3 separate regions of the Homo sapiens genome follow, and all the other regions are linked to region 1. The links are contacts of gene promoters, found by promoter capture Hi-C in blood cells and fetal thymus (Javierre and others, 2016). All regions are on one chromosome and are shown on one strand. Each heading gives the region's core, a stretch centred on a gene start or on the middle of the fragment in contact. The rest is flanking DNA. Distances are from core to core; before and after follow the strand shown. Region 1 holds the start of PALS2 (protein associated with LIN7 2, MAGUK p55 family member). Region 2 holds the start of MALSU1 (mitochondrial assembly of ribosomal large subunit 1). Region 3 has its middle 20 kb from the start of TRA2A.

Region 1 (5,161 bases), core at 903-3,402:
ATAGTAAATATTCAAACAAGCAACTTCAATTTTAAAACAACTTTTTAAAAAGATAACACATAGAGTCACAGTTATGTCTTCTTGGTTATCTCAAGCTAAAAAGAGGGGGAGTGGGGAGAGAAAGAGAGAAGCAGGCTATGTAGTGCTCTGGAACAATTTCAGCCTAAAATGAGACTCAGAAGCAAACTGCTCCCTCAAATGTTTAAAAATATGATTCATTTTTAAAAATCCAACAGTTGGCCTAAAGAAAAAAAAAGATTCTGTCTTATATAGAGCTACTAGACTTGCTTAAACACCTTAATTTTTCCAGTGTTGATTTAACCTAGAATGCAAAATAATTCATTTTGACATTCCAGATGTCAAGAATTCGGTGGCATCAGTAAGGACACATACACACCTCTTTCATAAAGATGGTGTGCAGTCTCCATAGGACAAAATTGAGCAATTAAAAGTGTTACCATTTGTGTATTATGTAACCGTAGTCCAGAATGAAGGAAACATGGACCTTAAAGAGTAACACATCGTGCAAACACGCATTTAAACACCTATTTAAATATATGATAGATTTAAGGTACAAATGACCTCAAAATGACACAACCCACAAAAGTTCTTTGTTTACTGTTAACAAGGCCTCAGAAGACATAACTATAATCAGGCCTACTACCCACTACCCTATCATTGCACAGTAGATGCCTACAATAAGCAATATTACTTGAGGTCCGTTGCTATACCTATATACGGAAACTATATACCGCATTACTAAAAATGTTACTTCGCCTGGTATATTCGACCAACATAAGTTTACAAATGATTTGCAAAATTTCACGGGAAGAAATGGCTGCTAAATCATACTCCAATTGAAACGCATTTTAACGCACCCCAAACGTTCTCAGCTACACTACAAGACCACTTGTAATATACTTGAAGCACAAAGTAAAATTCCAACACTCTCCAAAGGCGTAGGAAAGAATAAAACGTGGCTAGCCTGACCTTACCCGGCTGTTTATAAGTAATGCGGAGAATTTTCTGAGCTTCCCCGGCAGTCTTCAATTCTCTCCCTCGCTTCACCCCCACCCCCTACACAGATGCACACCCAACTGATGGAAGTTTAACAAATGTAATCTCGAGCTGCAATCCCAGAAACTGGTAGGATTGAGAATAAACTCCCAGTAAAGTGTTAAAAAGTCCTTCTGCAAAAAAACATCTACCAACCAATCCACATCCTGTCACCACACGGTCGGATACCTCAATCGACTCCCCTGCTGACCCTCCACCCAGCCAAAATAAAAAAGCCCCAGCACCTATTTGGTTTCAGACAAACGTACCGAGAATCCGCGAGCACGATCTCAGCAGCGAACGCCCCCGCGGCAGCCTGTGCTCGGCCCACAGCCACTTTGGCCAAACAACTGGAGTCTCGTACCTCGGAAGTAGCGGCGGTAGTTGGAGAAAGCCTCCTCCCCTACCAACTCCGAGCTCGGGAGAGAACCGGGAGCCGGCGGAATCACCCCCTCTCGGGACAGACCCCGGAGGTGTCAGTCACAGCAACGCCGCCCCCAGGCCGGCTCTCCATTCAGGCTCCACCGCGACTCCCGCCGCAGAGGTGTAGGCACCCAAGCCCCGCGCCCGAAGGGGCCCCGCGCGTCTGCGGCCCTAGCCCCAGTCGGGGCCGCGCCGGGGAGCGCGTGGGGAGCGGCGGCAAGCAGCATGGGCCAGACACGTTGCCGAGCTCCGGCCCGCCCAGCCGCCCGCAGCCAGAGAGGCAGGAGCCCGGCCGAGCGCCCCTTCCGCGCGGGCCGGGCTGGGGGCGGCCAGCAGCCTCCCCGACCGCGGCGCCGCCGCCGCCGCCTGCCGGTCCCTCTTCCCCGCGCCCGCCGAAGCCCAGGTGCCGAGGGGGGCGGGGCGGGCCAGGGTCCCCGCGTGGCGCGCCGCGCCGAGCAACAGGGCGCCCCCGGCCGGCCCGGCGCGCGGCGCGACCGTTACCCGAGCGGCGTGGGGGTCCAGTTAACTCACCGGCTCGCACCTCAGCCGCCTCCGCGCCGCCGCTGCCGCCGCTCCCGGTCGCTCCCCGCCGCCGCTGCTCTCCCTCAGCCACAGGCGCCGCCGAGCAGCCCCATCTGCAAACTCGTGGCTCGTAGTTGAGAACTGGAAATGCGTCTCTCACTGCCCTCCGCCTCCCTCTCTCTCCTCCCCCTCCCTCGCTCCCCACTCTGCCCCAGCTCCGGTCGCCCCCGCCGCTGCCTCCGCGCGCGCAGCCAGCCGCGCCTCAGCCGCCCTCCTCCTCCTCCTCCTCCTCCTCCTCCTCCTCCAGCCGCCGCCGCCGCCGCCGCTTGGGCGCGCTCCCAGCCGGCCTCGCGCGTGCGCCGGACGTCGGGGAGCGCGCGCTCGGGCGCGAGGAGGTGCCACCGCCTCCGGAAAGCCGGGCCCCGCCCCTCCCGCCGCGGCTGGGCGCCCAGGTGGAGCCCCCTCCCAGCTTCTGAGCGCCCAGACTGACTGCGCTCTGCGCCCGGCCGGCTCGCTTCAGGGGTCCCGGACCTGCGCCCGCGAGAGAGGGCTGGTCGGACCCAGTCCCCGCCGGGTCTCCTGGGCCGAAGTCGCAGCTGTCTGTCAGCATTTACGGGTGGGCAAGATACTCCTCGGGGCATAAAACAGGCTCCGCCCTGACCTTTCTGAGAGTTTTACATTCAAGAACCCAGTCGTGGGGCACAAAAGAGAAATGGAACGAGAAGAAAAGCCTCTGGAAAAATCTCCCCCTCCCCCTTCACAGACTCCACTGGATCTGATGTGTATTTGGCAGGTTCTACGGCGCTGACTGTGTCCTTCATTAATTTTTTCCCAAAGGCCCGACCGGGCAGTGTGATTCACACCCGAGGAAATGCATGGACACTGGCTCTTTTCATAGCACCGAGGCTCCCGTGGAACTCCCTGGGTCGGCTTTGCCAGACACTCCCTGGACACAGTTGTTCAGCTCCTCCCCAGCACCTGGGCTTCCCAGACCTCAAAAGGGTGGGGTTGGGGAGGGCATGCCATCCTTTCAGCCTGGACTCTGCGTAGAGCTTGGTGAACTGTGATGAGTGTCCGGATGTGTAGATGACACATTTTGACAGAAGTGCAGATTTAATTTTTCAGTTGAAAGGAACTGAGCAATGCACTGCAGCAGAGACTTCTGGCTAGAAAAACATAGCAAGGCAGCCAGAGAACTTCCGATCCCCTTAAAAGAGCTCTGTGAACCCTCAGACCTGTGACAGGCGGCTTTTGGAAAAACTATTGTGTTCTTCCTAAAATTGAAGAATGTAATTTACATTTTACAAAATGCTTACTGCAATCTTTTCAAACCATGAACGTAGAAAGTGCAAGTCAAACTTTACGTGTGAGGAGTGTTATGAGGTGGCCTCCTCTGTGCAGCCTTTCCTGGCTTCTCTTGGGCACCTTGCACAAACCAGACCATTAATAAGTGTTTGCAGAATAAATGCGTGCATCATGGCCCTTTGGATTCAGAGATGAAGTTATAAGTTGTATTGTCTCCTCTCTTTGTGAATGTGGCAGGCATGGAAGGGAGAGAGAAAATACTATTGATGAGATGTATTAAGAAGGTCCAGTGTCCAAAACAGTGATTTTTGTGTTTATCCTCAACCAAGCATCAAAGATTAATTTACTTTTCCATTAGGATCATTAATTTTGCAAACCAACATGCAGGGGGGCCTTGTACAGTGTTAATTTAGAACCTTCTTTCCTGGAACCACAAACCCAGGCAAAGGTAATTGGAAGCATTTAAGGAGACTCAAACGTGCCCAGGGCACAGAGTAGCTTTGGGCCCCCTGTAGTCAGGATGGCTGGATGAAATGAAGTGGAGTGGGCTCGGAGCCCAAGGCAGAGACAAAGCGGAAGGATGGGGTTTGTCTTCTCGGGGTGTCAGCAAGACCTTTCAGGTCCTTCTTGCTGCCCCAGGCCCACTTGCTTCTCACAGGACACCCATGGGTCCTCCCTGCTGTACCCTACCCAGGCTTGTGAACTCTTTTCCCTTCTGACTCTTAACCTTAACACATCCCCTTGGACCCAGCCACTTAGTTACTTGCCCTGAGCTTCTCTGGGGTTGGGGTGGGAGGTAGGGTATGAATGTCATTTCCAGATATGTTAGTGATCCTTAATAGTGCACTTTTATTTCCTCAAGGGTCTTCTGGAAACAATGTCCTAACCTACTCTACCCCTGCTCCCTGCAAGTAGAATGATGTTAACTGAGGAAGTTTTAGGGAGGGAGGGTTTGGGGTAGGCTCTGCCCCTCAAATTACATGCAGACCTACCTGACTTAAAGCTGGCACCACTCCTGGCCAACTGCTTTATCTCTGCATCTACCAGAGACCCAGCATTTGGGAGCAGGAATACAGGAACAATTATCTTTCATTTGCAGTTCCAAGTCTGTGCTCTAAGTAATGACAGCAGCTATCAGATGGAGGCTTATCACTGCCGTAAGACTCAGCTTCATTCTTAGAGTCAGAAAAATGATTTTGCTCCAATAACTGTCTTTGATTGCTCCCCTTCAGAAAGCTCTTGCCGGTGAAGTTCCTCTCTCAGTGTCAGATGAGTATTGTATCAAATACTCATATACAGTTATAAAAGGAAACACTATTTCCTTTTATAAATGATATTCCCATTTTATAACATTCTGCCCTTCCTCTAAACTTTAAAGGTGGGACATGCCAGGATAAATTTAAAGTGTTCTCAGTTAAACATTGGAACTCCCATCATTGGTTCCCAACTCAGCTTTCTGAGAGGTCATCATACTGAGACACCACCATCCATTTCCCATACCGGTTACAAATTCTTCATTCCAAGAAAGGGGAATGATATGATTGAGAATGATGGTGGATCTTTCTCTTCAGTGTCCTTAATAGTCTGACTTTTCATTTCCTTCAAGGTTACTCTAAAGGGATCATAATTTTACCACAGCCCAGTATCTCCCAACGGTAATTCAATTTAAAATTTGAATTTTGATTCTTAATTCAGGAGCATCCATCACTCAATTTTGTTTCCTCCTTCAAATGTAAACAACATACACTTTTAATGTGATTACATTTTCTTTTCTCTTCTGACCTGCTTTGCTCCTACAGAAATTGAGAATTTTGCTAATAGCCCCGAATTTTAGCAAAAGCAAATCCTGTGTACT
Region 2 (5,161 bases), core at 1,881-4,380, 1.3 Mb after region 1:
ATGTACCAGGGTTTTGTGTATAGGCCCCACCTTTTTATTTTACAACCTTTCTCTATACAATTTTGGCTACTCTTTTGGTCTTAACTGCCTCCTCTATGACCAATTCTCAACAGACTAAGACTAAGAAAGGTATCATGGCCCCGTGGAATGGTACCAGAGTCAGCTAGAGGCTTCCAAGTACTTTCTTCCTCATTCTGATTCATATTCAGTGCAACTGGAAAACAATCCCCCTTTCTTTCCTCAACTAGACCTGTAAGGGCAAGGACTACATCTTTTTTGTTCTTACCTTCCCAATACCCCGTACAGTGCTTGGGAACACTGGACATGCTCAAATCTTTGAATGAAACTCCAGGCCAGCACTGTCCAATAGAACGTTTTACAATGATGAAAATGCTTTATGGCTGTCCCATATGGTAGCCATTAGCCACACGTGGCTATTGAGCATTTGAAATATAGCTAATATAACTGCAGAACTGAATTTATATCTTTTTTTTTTTTTTTGAGACAGAGTCTGGCTCTGTCACCAGGCTGGAGTGCAGTGGCACAATCTCAGCTCACTGCAACCTCCGCCTCCCAGGTTCAAGCCATTCTCCTGCCTCAGCCTCCCGAGTAGCTGGAATTACAGGCACACGCCACCATGCCCAGCTAATTTTTGTATTTTTAGTAAAGACGGCATTTCACCATGTTGGCCAGGATGGTCTTGATCTTTTGACCTTGTGATCCACCCACCTTGGCCTTCCAAAGTGCTGGGATTACAGGCTTGAGCCACCACGCCCGGCTGAATTTATATTTTAATTTATAATTAAATAGGCACATGTAGCTAGTGGCTACCGTAATGGATAGTGCCTCTAGAAATCCCTCTGGTTATACTGTCTTCTAGCTTGCCTCAGGTTATAAAATATTATTTTCCGGCCGGGTGAGGTGGCTCATGCCAGTAATCCTAGCACTTTAGGAGGCTGAGGCAGGCGGATCCCCTGAGGTCAGGAGTTTGAGACCAGCCTGACCAACATGGAGAAACCCGTCTCTACTAAAAATACAAAATTATCTGGGCCTGGTGGCGCATGCCTGTAATCCCAGCTACTCAGGAGGATGAGGCAGGAGAATCACTTAAACCCGGGAGGCGGAGGTTGCGGTGAGCAGAGATCGCGCCATTGCACTCCAGCCTGGGCAACAAGAGCAAAACTCCATCTCAATTAGAAAAAAAAAAAAAATCTTCCTTGCGGTCACAAGAGAAAAGATTTTGATATATCCTAACTCAATAGGGCTGGATATTTGCTCCCATATGTTTCACTATCAAAGAACATAAAATGAATTCATGCAAATTCTGAAAATTTGGGCTTCTTCTGTAACTTTGTATGATGGGTTTACCCTCTAAGTGTTGCTCCTTGGCCTGATGCACTGTCACTATTCCACTCAGTTAATGGTCCAAAAGAGAAAAGAAAGCATCCTACCATTTTCACAACGTAGAAGGCCATGGCATGTAAGTGTCGGGTAGAAGTTCCACTAACAATCACAAAGTAATCTGTATATCTCATTTCTGGAGGAACCTGGATCACACAAATGTCTCTTGCATTTTCTTGCCTCAGAAGTGAAACCATCATATCGATGTCAAACTTGGGACCAGTATGATCTGAAATGCACAAATAGTTGTTTGTATCAGGATGGCCAAGCAGATAGACGTGTATGCACCCAGAGATGCCGGCAGCTGACTGTTCCTCCATGAGGGTGTTTAGATCCAAAGTGTTTTTACAGATAGCAGGGTAAAGGCCTCCTGGAAGGTGAACCTGGGCAGTAGTATCATAGCACCGCTCAACTTTTATGGTCAGGGTGCTCAGATTACGCAGAGCCACTATACATCCTTCGCTATTAACCATATGCAAGTAGAACCAGACACCAGTGACAAATGACTTTCTACTAATACTTAAAAGGAGCAATACACCACAATCACAGAAATGCTGTGCAAAGAAAAACAGCACCACAAAATGGGTAGGAGGTGATATCCTGGAGCATATTAAATTGAATCTCAGTCATAACGGGTCACAGAATTGTGAGCTGGAAGGGCTCTTAGGCAGTATCTGGTCCACAACCTTCAGTTGAGAGATGAAGAAACTGAGGCCTAGGAGAATTACTGTGGCCTAAGATCAGTCACTGAAAGAGCTACATTTTTGAGTAATTATTATTTTGAACCTTCCAGTTTTCATATAAAACCACCGGGTTATTAACAACTGTTACCTATGAAAATCTAATTTTTTTTCCCGTAAAGATTTAGATATTCTGATCTTCAGCTTGGAGTATTACAGGCTGTAAATTTAAAAGCTCGCCCAAGTTCTAAAGCCGACTCCAAAGGACCTAGTAGCTAAGCCCACTAAGGCCTCTCCCTCTCATACTCTACATTCTTAGATGTGATCTGTTTACCATTCTTAAGTTTCTAAAAACGTCAGCAATAACTAGAGGATATTAACTTGGACCCATCTCCTACTGGCGCTTCCTACGCACCCCTTCGCACCCAGACCCTGGCTCCTCAGAATCCTCAAGCCCCAACAGTCCCCACAAACCCATTTCCCAGGATCCTAGGAAGAGGGTAAAAGGAAGTGAGGACGGTGAGACTGTGATGCCAAGGGTGGGAGATGGCCGTCCGGGAGGCTGGGATTCTGCAGTTCATCTCTTGCCCTCAATTTCTTCACTGTGAAACGGGAAGGTTGGCGCCAACAACCTTTGAAGTCCCTTCCAGCTCTGGATGTGCAGGAGTTTTGTGACTCCAAGAGAAATGCACATAGAGGGGAACCCAGAGCCACCTTGGCTGGGACCTGACTCCAGACTGCCCGGAGAGGGTCGCCTTCGTTCTTCTCCACGCCCGTACCTGCCGCGTCCGATTCTGGGCGTCCCTCGTTGACCGTCCCCTCCGCCCGCTCCTCCAGCCCAGGCTCGCTGTGCAGGCCGCGGACAAAGTTTGGGGTCTGGCAAGCCCGGCAGAACGCTGCTCCTACGGGAAGCCGCTGCACGGCCAGCAGCCGAAGCCCGGGCTCGGCTCCAACCGCGGACCCCGCCACCGAGGAAACCGCCCTGCGCCACATTAGTGGGGCGAGCAGCCGCGCCACACGGCCGCCCGGCCCCATAGCAGCAGCCTTGCGTCGGCGTCGCGGGTGGGTGGTACTTCATGGAGCCCGGCCGGGAAATTCTACGTCGATGCGTGGGCGGAGTCAAGGCCTGAAGGACGGACCATGGGCGGAGTCTGGAGCCCGTGAAGACTGCAGTGACCCGGAAGAGCTACTTGGGGATTAGGGCGTGCGGGAATAAAGAACTAGTGTTGCTTGCCCACCTTGCTTTGCTTTGTGTCGCAGTAGCGCATTACGTTGTCACTTTTTTTTTGGACTCTGTCCACTAATGTGAGGCTCATGAAGGCAATAATTTTTGTTTCATTTTTAACTCTTCTCTCCACAGCACCTAAAACAGTTCCTGGTACTGAATGTCCAGAAGTTGCTGTTAATCTGATTAGGCTGGGATTAGGACATATAATCTACCCTCTCTCATTACCAGAAAATATTCAAGATTCCCTTGCAAATTTGAAATTGCGCGAGGAAAATCTGTTATCCTGGGCTAGAGTGGGGTGGGAGGCAGAGGTGTAAAGGACCATTTGGAAACCGTTCTTAGGTCAGCCCATCATCTACACTCCCTGTATGGAGGAGTTTACGCCCAGGGGCGGTACTGTGGGGACCAGCTCTGTAAGAATAAGGAATTCTGAGGTGCCAGCTGCGGTATTAAGTCACAGGACTTGAGAACTGCGATAGATTCCTGGCACGGGTGGGGGGGTGGGGGGTTTTGGGGGCGTGGGACGCCGCAGGGAAGCAACTTGCCCAGGTCATACACTTACTGACTGCGTCAGAATCAGAAGCCAGTTTCTGGCTTCTGAACTCCAGGCCTGCTAACTGCTGAAAGGAAGGCTTCATAGAGAGCAAATATTTCAAATGCCTGAAACAGTGCCAGACACATAGCAGGCACTCCAAAAATGTTTGCTACATTATTTTAAATAATTCCAAGCACTAATTTTGGGAAGTTTTTTAAAAATAGAGAAATTAAGCATTTGTGTATATCACACCAGATATGTACAACCACTTCAAGTTATTTTTGAAAAGAAGAAAAACATTACAGATTAAGTTTCCTCTGTCCAATTTTAGCCCCATCCTCAATTCCATTTTTCCACAGGCATGAACTTGGCTTTTCTCCCAGCTTCTGGCATCCATTCCGTGTTCCCACCCTTCTCTGAACATCCCAGACCTGCTTTACCACCTGTATTTGCCAGCTCATTTAATGGGTCATTATCCCTTCAAAACTCCCAAACCCTAGACTTCATTCAGTCCAGGATCTTCATACAACAAACGAATCTGTTGTCAAAATCCTGCTTATGTGACCTCCAAAATGTTTCTGTGAGTTCAGCTTCTTGTCTTCATTTCCACTGTTTCTTCCTTAGTCCACACCCTCATTAGTTCTTGCCTAATTACAGAGACTGCCTCCTACCTGGCTTTCCTGTCTCCAGTCTGTTTCTACTCTTTTCATCCTCCATGCTGCCCTTCTATCAACTACAATCATTTTCGCTTTATCTGCTTTTTGCTGTTTTTCAAACTCACCATACCCTTTTTTATTTTTATTTTTTAAAGAGATGGGGTCTTACTCTTGTCACCCAGACTGGAGTACAGTCACACAATCATAGCTAACTACATCCTCAAACTCCTGGGCTCAAGCGGTGCTCCTGCCTTAGCCTCCCAATTAGCTAGGACTACAGGCATGTGGAACCATGGCCAGCTAATTTTTGTTTTTAATTTTTTTAAAGACAGGATCTCACTATGTTGCCCAGGCTGGTTTCAAACTCCTGGCCTTAAGCAATCTACCCCACTGTAGCTGTGAGTATAGGCATAAGCCACCATGCCTGGCAACCTCACCATATCCTTTCAATGCCAAGCTTTGCATATACTTTTTTTTTGAGATGGAGTCTCGCTCTGTCACCCAGACTGGAGTGCAGTGGCACCATCTCGGTTCACCACAACCTTTGCCTCCAGGGTTCAAGCAATTCTCCTGCCTCGGCCTCCCAAATAGCTGGGATTACAGGCACGTGCCACCACCCCCAGCTAATTTTTGTATTTTTAGTAGAGACGGGGTTTCACCA
Region 3 (5,161 bases), core at 1,153-3,652, 1.0 Mb after region 1:
AAATCCCGTCTCTACCAAAAAAAAAAAAAAAAAAATTGCAAAACTAGCCAAGCATGGTGGCGTGCACCTGTAGTCCCAGCTACTCAAGAGGCTGAGGTGGGAGGATGGCTTGAGCCCAGGAGATGGAGGTTGCGGTGAGCAGTAATCGTGCCACTGCACTCCAGCCTGGGTGACAGAGCCACACCTTGTCTCAAAAAAATAAATAAATAAAAATAAAGTGAATTTGAAAATACACGTCTTTATCAAACTCTCACTTCTAAGAATGTGTTTCCTTTATATGACCACATAAATGATACTTTGAAGAATTATTTCTTGAATCTTGCCCAGAATCAAAACCAATTTCATCAGCATATAATTTGAGAGCTCTACCTTCTCCTATTAGAAATTGCCACTGTATTTGTTAATATCCGATCTTGATTTCATTCTCCTTGATTTTCAAATAACAGAATATCTGTTAATCTACTCATTCAGGGTTCTCTGAGTAAGCTGAGATATAATTCACGTAGGCCTGATAATTGAAAATTATTTAGATCACTGTACAATTTATATATTCTCACACTTCTCACCCATCTTGGGCTCCAGTTCCTTCTGACCCACTTTTGTTTTACCTTCATCAGTATCCAGACCATTTTCGTAGACACTGAAGACAGACTCAAAGAGTTCTGCTTCCTCTGTCACTTGTTCACACTACACAGCCCAAGCATCAGACCTAGGTCTTCTTTTATCTTCTGGAGGTAAATGTGATCTTTTTTTTTTTTTAGTTAGAGTCTCACTCTGTCGCCCAGGCTGGAGTGCAGTGGTGTGATCTTGGCTCGCTGCAATTGCCACCTCCTGGGTTCCAGCGATTCGGCCTCAGCCTCCCGAGTAGCTGGCACTACAGGCACACGACACCACCCCCGGCTAATTTTTGTATTTTTGGTAGAGACAGAGTTTCACCATGTTGGCCAGGCTGGTCTCAAACTCCTGACCTAAGGTGATCCACCCACCTTGGCCTCCCAAAGCGGTGGGATTACAGGCATGAGTCACCGTGCCTGGCCTAAAAAACTGTTTTATTTGTTGTTAGTGGCTTTGCAATTCTTCTCTCATTTGAGCTTTAGTATTCCTCATGCCATTTTCACAGATTTGTGGAACTCTATTCATCTTTAGTCACATTTCCTTATTTCTGTCATGCATATATTTTCTATTAATATCTGAACTAATTAGAAAATGCCGCATACTATCACAATGGCTTTTTCAGACATCTCCTTTTTCTCTTCTTCACTGAGGTCATTTTAAATTATGTGATCAGAATTGACTATTTCAGGACAACCCAATCCTCTTGATCATGGCACATCTAACACAGTGCAGAGCAAATAATAGGAACTTACTAAATATTTAATGAATGAATTACAATAAATGAAAGAAAATCTCATTCCAATGAATTTTTTTTTTCTTGAGACCAAGTCTCACTCTGTTGCCCAGGCTGGAGTGCAATGATGCGATCTTGGCTCACTGCAGTCACTGCCTCCCAGGTTCAAGCAATTCTGCCTCAGCCTCCTGAGTAGCTGGGACTACAGGTGCCCGCCACCACACTCGGCTAATTATTGTATTTTTAGTAGAGATGGGGTTTCACCATGTTGGCCAGGGTGGTCTTGAACTCCTAACCTCAGGTGATCCACCTGCCCTTGGCCTCCCAAAGTGCTGGGATTACAGGTGTGAACCGTTGTACTAGGCCATCATTCCAAAGAATTATGCCTCTCCTTTCTTTGAATTTATTTTTTCTTTTTTTGAGACAGGGTCTCACTCTGTCATCCAGGCTGCAGTGCAGTAGCATGATCATAGTTCACTGAAGCCTTGAACTCCTGGACTCAAGTGATCCTCCCATCTCAGTCTCCTGAGTAGATGGGACTACAGGTGTGTGCCACCAAGCCCAGATAATTGTTTAAAACTTTTTTAAGAAATGAGGATCTTGCTATGTTGTCCAGGCTGGCCTGGGACACCTGGCCTAAAGTGATCCTCTCATCTCAGCCTCCCAAATAGCTGGGATTACAGGTGCAAGTCACCCACACCGAGCTCTCTGAATTTTTAAAAATCTGAATGTTTTTGTAATCCTCAAGACATAGCTGGCTATTCCTATTATAAAAAATTATATACAAAAATGAGCCAGGCATGGTGGCACGCGCCTATAGTCCCAGCTACTTGGGAGGCTGAGGCAGGAGAATCGCTTGAACCCGGGAGGCAGAGGTTGCAGTAAGCCAGGATCATGCCACTGGCCTGGGTGACAGACCAAGACTCTGTCTCGAAAAAAAAAAATTATGACGGCTGTAGAATAATTTTCTCCCTATGTTCCTGTCACTTTTACTTCAGTAAATTTCAGTTTTTGGTTTTGGGATTTTTTGGTTTGGTTTTTTGTTTTTTGTTTTTTTTTGAGACGGAGTCTTGCCCTGTCACCCAGGCTGGAGTGCATTGGTAGGATCTCGGCTCACTGCAACCTCCGCCTCCTGGGTTCAAGCAATTCTCCTGCCTCAGCCTCCCAAGTAGCTGGGACTACAGGCACACACCACCACATCTGGCTAATTTTTGTATTTTTAGTAGAGATGGGGTTTCACCCTTCTGGTCAGGCTGGTCTCGAACTCCTGACCTCAGGCGATCCACCCACCTCAGCCTCCCAAAATGCTGGGATTATAGGTGTGAGCCACCACGCCCAGCCACGAATTTCAATTTTAAAGTACATTCATCTTTCTGTGTTTCTCACTAGTGAAGACGTCATTCAGTGCTGTGGGAGCCCCTCAGAAAAACCCTTTGGAGGCTGCGCATTGTGGCTCATGCCTGTAACCCCAGCACTTTGGGAGGCCGAGGTGGGCGGATCACGAGGTCAGGAGTTCAAGACCAGCCTGGCCAACATGGTGAAACCCTGTCTCTACTAAAGATACAAAAAATTAGCCGGGCATGGTGGTGGATGCCTGTAATCCCAGCTACTTGGGAGGCTGAGGCAGGAGAATCGCTTGAACCTGAGAGGCAGAGGTTGCAGTGAGCTGAGATCCCACCAATGCATTCCAGCCAAGGCAACAGGGCGAGACTCCATCGCGAAAAAAAAAAAAATTATGACGGCTGTAGAATCATTTTCTCCCTATGTTCCTGTCCCTTTTACTTCAGTGAATTTCAGTTTTAAAGAATATGCATCTTTCTGTGTTTGCCACTAATGAAGACGTTAATTCAGTGCTGTGGGAGTCCCTCAGAAAAACCCTTTGGAGGCCAGGCACCCTGGCTCACGCCTGTAATCCCAGAACTTTGGGATGCCAACCAAGAGGATCACTTGAGCCCAGGAGTACAAGACCAGCCCTGGCAATATAATGAGACCTAGTCTCTATAAAAGACTTAACAATTGGCTGGGCACGTTGGCTCATGCCTGTAATCCCAGCACTTTAGCAGGCCAAGGCAGGTAGATCACCTGAGGTCAGGAGTTCAACACTAGCCTGACCAACATGGTGAAACCCTGTCTCTACTAAAAATACAAAATTAGCCAGGTGTGGTGGCTGGTGCCTGTAATCCCAGCTACTCGGGAGGCTGAAGTAGGAGAATCACTTGAACCCGGGAGGCAGAGGTTGCAGTGAGCTGAGATTGCTCCATTGCACTTAGCCTGGGTGACAGAGCAAAACCCCATCTTAAAAAAAAAAAAAGGAAAGACTTAAAAATTATCCAAGTGTGGCAGGGTGTGGTGGGAGGATTGCTTGAGGCCAGAAGTTTGAAACCATCCTGGGCAACAAAGTAAGACACCATCTCTATTAAAAAAGAGAAATTTTGGCTGGGTGCAGTGGCTCACACCTGTAATCCCAACACTTTGGGAGGCTGTGAAGGGCGGATTACCTGAGGCCAGGAGTTCAAGACCAGCCTGGCCAACATGGTGAAACCCCGTCTCTACTAAAATACAAAAATTAGCCGGGCGTAGTGGCGGGCACCTGTAAATCCCAGCTACTTGGGAGGCTGAGGCAGGAGAATTGCGAGGCAGAGGCTGCAGTGAGCCGAGATCGTGCCACTGCACTCCTCTTGTTGCCTGGGCAACAGAGCAAGACTACGTCTCAAAACATGAGAGAGAGAGAGAAATTTCGAAGAAGAAGAAGGAGGAGGAGGAGGAGGAGGCAGAGGAGGAGGAGGAGGCTGGGCACAGTGGCTCACGCCTGTAATCCCAGCACTTTGGCAGGCCGAGACCAGTGGATCACGAGGTCAGGAAATCGAGACCATCCTGGCCAACATGGTGAAACCCTGTCTGTACTAAAAATACAAAAATTAGCCACGCGTGGTGGCATGTGCCTGTAGTCCCAACTACTCAGGAGGCTGAGGCAGGAGAATAGCTTGAACCCGGGAGGCAGAGGTTGCAGTGAGCTGAGATCATGCCACTCCACTCCAGCCTGGGTGACAGATCAAGACTCCATCTAAAAAATAATAATAATAAAGAAAAAGAAGGAGGCCGGGTATGGTGGCTCACACCTGTAATCCCAGCACTTTGGGAGGGCAAGGTGGGAGTATCCCTTGAGCCCAGGAGTTCAAGACCAGCCTGGGCAACATGGCAAAACCCTGTCTCTACCAAAAATTCAAAAGAAATTAGCTGGGTATGGTGGTGCGCACCTGTAAGTCCCAGCTACTTGAAAGAATGAGGCAGGAGGATTCTTTGAGCCCAGGTGTTCAAGGCTACAGTGAGCTATGATCACACCACTGCATGCCAGTCCAGGTGAAAGAGTGGGACCCTGTCTCTATTTACAAAATTAAGTTGTGACTAAATGTTGCCATGAACTCACAAGTTCTATTTTTGGAAAAGTTATGAAAGGAAGACAAACCCCTCTCCCTGCTTCTGCCAACCTTTGCTGAACATTAGCCCAGCTGTCTCCAGAGGTGCCGTGCCTGTGCCGTGGGCAAAACCCATCAGGGACCACTTGCAGCCAGCTCTGAGCTCAGAGCCATGAAGACTACGTAGGAGCTTGAAAACGTGATGGGTAATGTCTGGATATTGCTTTGCATTTTATTTGCTAGGGAATTAAGGGAACATGAATCCTGCTAATCATTCTCCATCACTTCCATTCTTCAGTCTCTATCTCATTGCAATTAAGACAATCAAAGTGCGTCCCTGCCCAAGAAGGCAGGCAAACACAATTTAGGTAGCCCTTAAATTTTTATTATGTAATAT

What was found. Contacts are between HindIII fragments. The CHiCAGO score rates a contact against its expected background, and 5 or more counts as called.
Region 2: a contact is called between the fragment with the promoter of MALSU1 here and the fragment with the promoter of PALS2 in region 1, in 10 of 17 cell types (naive CD8 T cells, total CD8 T cells, total B cells and 7 more). The highest score is 18.4, in naive CD8 T cells.
Region 3: a contact is called between a fragment that was not itself captured here and the fragment with the promoter of PALS2 in region 1, in 4 of 17 cell types (naive CD8 T cells, total CD4 T cells, naive CD4 T cells and 1 more). The highest score is 7.2, in naive CD8 T cells.

Annotation. Positions count from the first base shown.
Region 1 is chr7:24,570,443-24,575,603 of GRCh38, reverse strand. PALS2 (protein associated with LIN7 2, MAGUK p55 family member) reads right to left here and starts at 2,152. Exons shown (of 12, transcript NM_001303037.2): 1 at 2,011-2,152. RefSeq lists enhancers at 1,284-1,403, 1,454-1,503, 1,449-1,948, 2,814-2,913, 2,934-3,003 and a silencer at 1,604-2,673. The HindIII fragment of the contact is 6,948 bases long and covers 1-5,161 here.
Region 2 is chr7:23,297,308-23,302,468 of GRCh38, reverse strand. MALSU1 (mitochondrial assembly of ribosomal large subunit 1) reads right to left here and starts at 3,130. Exons shown (of 4, transcript NM_138446.2): 1 at 2,861-3,130; 2 at 1,452-1,630. The coding sequence starts at 3,116. RefSeq lists an enhancer at 2,824-3,313. The HindIII fragment of the contact is 9,022 bases long and covers 1-4,959 here.
Region 3 is chr7:23,549,173-23,554,333 of GRCh38, reverse strand. No RefSeq gene overlaps it. Among named protein-coding and RNA genes, the nearest start is that of TRA2A, 20 kb to the right of the region's middle. The HindIII fragment of the contact is 9,681 bases long and covers 1-5,161 here.